Linked DNA regions of Homo sapiens: region 2 is linked to region 1. The links are contacts of gene promoters, found by promoter capture Hi-C in human tissues and cell types (Jung and others, 2019). All regions are on one chromosome and are shown on one strand. The core of a region is centred on a gene start or on the middle of the fragment in contact, and the rest is flanking DNA. Distances in the headings are between cores, read along the strand shown.

Region 1 (3,047 bases), core at 359-2,858:
CAAATAGCTTGGCAAATGCAGTGAGGCATGATACATTCCAGACAAATGCCCAGATTCAATGTGACTTGGTACCCACATTTAGAAGGATCCACTGGACTCTGTGACAGGGTCTGGGCAGGTGGTCTACAGAAGAGCACAGCTACAAATTAGACAGTGCATGCTGTGCCTCTGAGTGGCTGTTTGTGTCTTTAGTTTGATTCTCACGTCTTTTGTTTTTCCCCCTCTCATTCTACCCTGCAGGTTAATGGCAGATATTTAAGGAAGACTTTGCCCTTCAAGACTAAACCCTGTGAAATCAGAGTTTAACAATGACTGCTTTGGGAAATTAACTCACAGTGTCAGTATCCCTGCTACCACTGCCATGAGGGAGGTTAGGCCTATCCTCCCCACATCAGAGACAAGGAAACTGAGGCTCAGAAAAGTGACCTGGTGAATCATGTGCAGTTAAAAAGTGGCAGGGACTGAGTCTGGATGCCTAGGGCTTGCCTTACAGTCAGCTGCCTGTTAGAACCAACTCTCTGTGACCCCGGGCCTCAGTTTCCCGATCTGTAAAGCCTAGGTTGTCTCTCTGTTCCCTTCCCGTTCACATGTTCTCTAAGTCTCCAGCCTGTGCCTTCTCCCAGCTGCATTCAGGTAGGCAACAAGTGGTATTGGAGCTATAGGCACAGCCGCAGGCTCCTGTGCAGGAGTTTACCCATGACCTTCTGGGCTCCGGGCCAGCCCTTCTTGTAAGGGAAACGTGCAGACCCTGGGGACAGAAATCAGTTCCCTTATGCTGGAACTGCTGCCACTGCCAACATCACCAACTAAAGAAACTGCGTGCGTGTGTGTGTGTGTGTGTGTGTGTGTGTGTGTGTGTGTATTGGGGGAAACACACAAAACACTGGGATAATAGCAAAAGGGAGACTGTGAGTAAATATTACATGCTCTCAACCCTTACTTCAGCCACCTGAGGACAGGGAGTGAGGAAGCTAGGGGTTTTTCCTTTACAGACCATAAGATTTCATATATATATATTATATATTATATATATTTTATATATAATATATATTATATATATTTTATATAATATATATTATATATTTTATATATAATATATATTATATATAATATATATTTTATATATTATATATAATATATATTATATATATTTTATATATATATTTTATATACATTTTATATATATTGTATATATATGTAAAACCTTAATTAAACTTTAACTAGCATCACCAAAGACATAAGACCCTTTGCAAATATTTTACACAACATTGGGTTTGGGGTGTGTGTGCCTGTTAGCTCAAACATGTATTCCCAACTATTTGTTTTCCATGCAGTTTTGGAATTTAAAGAGTTCCCTTCTCATTACCTTTTGGGAAGTTTCCGCGAACAGATGGGAAGGGGAACAAGAAAAAGTAAGAATCTGGGTAAATACAAACAGCTTTCCACTCACCTTTTTAACTCCTGGGTTGAGGTCCTTAGCCACCTTTGCCATCCTCTTCTGGGGTGGGGGAACAGCGCCTGGCTTCTCAGGCAGAGGCGCGAGGGCGCGCAGCGGGGACAGCGGCGGCTGAATGGCCAAGTTCGCGGGCCTGGGAGGGAGCTCTGTGCGCAGCCAGGCGCAGCTGGGCCGCTTTAATTGGAGAGCGGGACTCCCTCTAAAACCTCGCCAGCCACTCCGCGCCGGCGCTCGCGCGAGGCCAGCCAATCCCAGCGCGAGGCTGTCCCCCTCCCTCAGGGAGGTCTCTGCACTGTGGCAGCGAGCGGAGCTGAGCGCCGGCTGCCCTGACGTCAGCATGGCCGCGGCCCCTGACTACCCAGCTCCCTTCTATCCCTCGAGCGGCAGGAATCCGTCCCCACGCCCTTTTCCTTTAAAGGGCAACGGGCCGAAGGTGGGGCGGGCGGCGCGGCTCCCGCGATCCATTCAGGTCAAAAGGGAGAGTGATCAAACAGGAGAGCCGAGGTATTTTTAGTGAGCTGGATCCAGAAATAAATGCTGAGCTGTGCTCCCCTTCCCACCCTTTCTGCCTGGTCGTAGGGGGCGCGGGGAGGGCTGAGGGAGGAGGTGTTTTGCAGGAGCTGGCTAACGTTTCCCAAACCTGGGCGAGTTCTCCAATATCCAGAGAGGAGAAAAGATTCCAGCGAGTTATGATTTTTTTAAACTTAACGTTCGTAAAGTATTAAACTGCTTTCTTATAACTTGCTTTAACATAAATCCTTCTTATTCCATGAGCAAGAAATCACTGTCCTGATCTTAGAGATGCTCCTGTGGACATACTGTCTTGTTGTATGCTCATATTATCTCAGATATTATTATTATTATGACTGTAAGACGATAGATGAGGAAATAATCAGAATAACTGGTCCACAGCTGAATTACTGAGCAAGGCTTTAACCTGAGAGACTGAGAGTAATAGAGAGAAAGCTCATGGGGGCGTGGCGGGGGGGGGGAGGGAGGCGGCGGGCACAGGATTGTAAACTATAAACTAGGAAGTTAGTAATTTTTAGATAAATGGGGTCATGCAGGCCTGGACAAACAAGATTCCATCTGAGTTCACAAATCCATGGAATGTGGAGTCCTTGCAACGCATAACATAACTACTCTTATAAGACAGAATTGGCCAGGTTCCTCTCTCTATGCCACGTTGTTTGCCTATAAAGCCACATCTCTCTGCTGAGCCGGTTCCACAGACTTGGATTCCAGAGGCATTTCCCCCCTGCCCTGACAGAGGATTAAACACAAGCCCTTTTTATCCTAGAGAGAATACTGCTGTCTCTGTTGTGAGGTGTTCGGCCTGTAACCCGTCTTTGCAGTGCCCCCTGCCAGAAAAACCAGGGTCCCGTGGGCTAAAATAAAACTCGGTTGCACAGAGACTGAAGAGTGGTCCCGAAGTACACCATTCGGGAGGGATTTGGTGAGAAGGGGAGGCTGCAGTTCCCACTGTGGGGCTGTCTCTTGCTGGAGGCTTTTTCCTCTTGAAAGCCTCCTCCAATTTAGTTCTTATCATCATCTCCAGTCATCCCAAATCTCAGCCAGGGATCCTGAATTG
Region 2 (3,047 bases), core at 272-2,771, 140 kb before region 1:
CCGCATGCCTGCGCATGGATAGGACAGGTGTCCTGAGATTCTGTTCTGCTGCTGCCTTCCCACATGCCCCTTTAAACACTTGAAGACAGTTATTGAACCTTGCTTCTAGGTTTTTCCTCACTATCATGTTCAATTGCAGTCTGACCACGTGGTTCCTTGATTCCCTTCTAAAGCTCTGCCCTACCCTAATTCTTGCTGCAGCCATGACATATCCCAAGACAGACACCCACCTGTGAGATTACATAGATTTTATTTCCAGGAAAAAACAAGGTTCTTAGACAGCAATCAATTGATAGAGTCAGCTCCTGGACAGCTGTGCTAATTCCACAAATGTTTCTTGAGCACTTAGCACATGCAGGACACGAGGGCCAGTTCAGGAGGAGCTCTCAGAGCCCACTCATTTCCATCAACAGCAGGGAGGAAGAATGACTGTCAGATGTCAGGCACATAGTGGGCGCCTCTCTTCCCTGATCCCAACCTCCTTTGATAGTAAGAGGCAGGGACCAGTACTAGCCTCACACTGTCGTGGGTCCCAGAGCTAATGCTGCTTGTTCCTGCTGCTACCACGGATGTTAGGTGTTGATGGGTACATTACTTGCCCCGAGTCACTCAAGCACACTGTTGCAGACAGCACTTCTGTACGGATGCCGAAGCAAGATCAGAAAGGTCTAGCTGTTGGTTTGTTTATCTTCCATGCGTTTTAAGAGCTTTTTATTAACTTACTATTATGTGATCTAAGTAGCGTGCAGAAAAGGACTGTCATTTCTGCTGATCAGCACTTCCTGGTTACGAAAATACAGCTCAGCGTTGTCTGCATTTTTGCGGCCTCAAGATTTCGGGTCCTTGTAATGCTTAATTCTCTTCAACATTTTGTTCAATTTGACATTTAAAGAATTTTCTGTGGTTGTTCCTTTTAAATGCTGAGGAGGGTTTTAGGTAAGCATATATTGCGCTTAAAAAGTACTCAAGATGTAATAGTGGTATATTGTTTTAGTTAAGTTGCAAGCATTTTGTCATTAATCTATCATTTATCATGTTTTGGCTCAAATATATACACACATGCAAACACACACCTAAACAGATACAGCAATGGATGCTCACACAGATGTTTAGGGTAAAATATACACGCAGAGAAAGGCATACAAATTCATGATAACCCCATTTACCATGGGGACAATTCTATAAGGGCTTAAAATCATTGCTTCATGTATAAAGGCATCAAAAGACCACATTTGTTCCTCAGGATCATGGTCTTCCTTGTGTATACACAGTAATGAAACTTATATGACTCTCAAGTATCAGAAATCCAGTGCTCCTACCAGCCATAAAAATCGATTTGTGAGGACTGAGTCACCTAAGAAGCATTTGTGAAATTGTGAATACTGCTGAAGGTTGCACTTGCATGCTGTCGGCGATGGGCAGTCAGTGACGAGGGTGAAGGCAGTAGAGAGAATAAAGACACGCTCTTTATGGAGCAGCTGGGAGCCATCTCTGTGCAGTGTGGCCATCCCAGACAGGCCGACATTTAGGACACTGACAAAATAGTCCTGATGCTTCCCCTGGTGAAGGCAATCCCAGGTTGTCATTGAGGAATATCATGGCACATCCCACGTGCATTGCTGGGATGGGGAAGTCAAGGCGTAGGGCAGTTTCATCACCCTGGCCAGAGAACCCCAGGTTCAGCTGCAGAGGAGTGATTGCCAAGGATGCAGTGGAGGGGGTGGGACCCATAGAGCCTCGGGGACCAGCTCACAAGTTCTGTGTTTAGACTCATGCAGAGGAGGATGATCTTCCAAGGGCTGAGGTTGAAGGGGTGTCAAACTCCAATGGAAAAGGTTTAGGAAAAGACCTTTTACAAATCCAAAGATGTTTCACAGTGGGCGAGGCTGGTGTGGCGACAGTAGTGGCCCACATGGCTGGGTTGGGAGCCAGCTCTGCCCATGAGGTGCCGTGTGGCTTTGCAGTGTGGCCTCACAATCCCAGCTTTGTTTCTTCCCCAGGGAGATGAGGCTGGTGATGCTCAAGATCTCAGAGGCCCTGCCCAGGCTGAGTATCTGTATATAATATCCCCCTTGGGGAGGTAACCTTCTTGTGGTTATGACCTTTTTCTGCATGCGCCCTACAATACTTAGGAGTCTGCCTCCTACAGCTGGGCGATGTAGCTCAGTTGTCAGGCACTCTGACTAGAGAGTCAGACTGATGAGGGTTTGAATCTATCATCCTGCTCAGAAAAATGGGCATGATACCAGTGCCCCTCTCAAAGGGGTGCAGTGAGGACATGAGTAACTAGAAGCATCCATAAGAGCTTGGTCAGTAGAAGGCTCTTGTGGAAGAGGAGCTCCCAGAACCCGGTGGATTGGGTGCAGAGCAGCTGCTATGATGAACGATATAGATGTTTCCCTTTGTTGTATTCCAACTGGGTAACAATGGGCCTGCTGTTCTGGGAGGGGCCTGAGGGTGGTCCATCAGAGCACATCGGTCCAAGCACACTCGAAGGGCAGACATCTCTTTGGCAGGACGTCTGGAACATGGACAGGGATCTGAATGAAGATGACAGTAAGTAGAGCCTCAAAGATGGCACGGAAGACTGTGTGGAGATATTTTAGCCTGCATTTGAAGAGGACCTAATCTGACCTCTAATATGTTGGAAGTTATGTATCCATAGTCTTTTCTAATAAGCTCTGTAGCTAGCACTGTGTGAACTCTTCCATCTGCCCTAAATGCAGTCCTGGGTCTGCATCTGGATTGCCGAGAGCACCCCTTCCTTCCTTCCTTCCTCTCGTGTGTAAAGCCTACCTGTAGCTTGCGATCTCTTCTTCCGTTATGAGCCTTTGGACAATGGAGAAGGAAGGTGAAAGATGAAATTGAGAACTTTTCTCTCTATCACAGTGACACCATGCAAACCTTATATTCTTTTCCCTTTTTCTTCTTTTCTCTAGTTGACAGTGTCTCCTGCTCCCAGCCAAATCTAAGTGAGATTTTCAGGATTCTTATTTCAATCACAATTGGATTCAGTTCTTAGATGATGTTAACTCTACAGAAAGGTC

What was found. The method cuts DNA at HindIII sites, captures the fragments that hold promoters and counts their contacts. A contact is called where the count stands out against the background at its distance.
Region 2: a contact is called between a fragment that was not itself captured here and the fragment with the promoter of LMCD1 in region 1, in 1 of the 25 tissues and cell types used here (hippocampus).

What each region holds. Positions count from the first base shown.
Region 1 is chr3:8,500,384-8,503,430 of GRCh38, reverse strand. It overlaps LMCD1 (LIM and cysteine rich domains 1), which reads right to left and starts at 1,608. Exons shown (of 6, transcript NM_014583.4): 1 at 1,451-1,608. The coding sequence starts at 1,492. It overlaps LMCD1-AS1 (LMCD1 antisense RNA 1), which reads left to right and starts at 1,773. Exons shown (of 4, transcript NR_033378.1): 1 at 1,773-1,960. The HindIII fragment of the contact is 11,258 bases long and covers 1-3,047 here.
Region 2 is chr3:8,644,240-8,647,286 of GRCh38, reverse strand. SSUH2 (ssu-2 homolog) reads left to right here and starts at 2,489. Exons shown (of 12, transcript NM_001256748.3): 1 at 2,489-2,556. The coding sequence starts at 2,529. The HindIII fragment of the contact is 4,453 bases long and covers 1-3,047 here.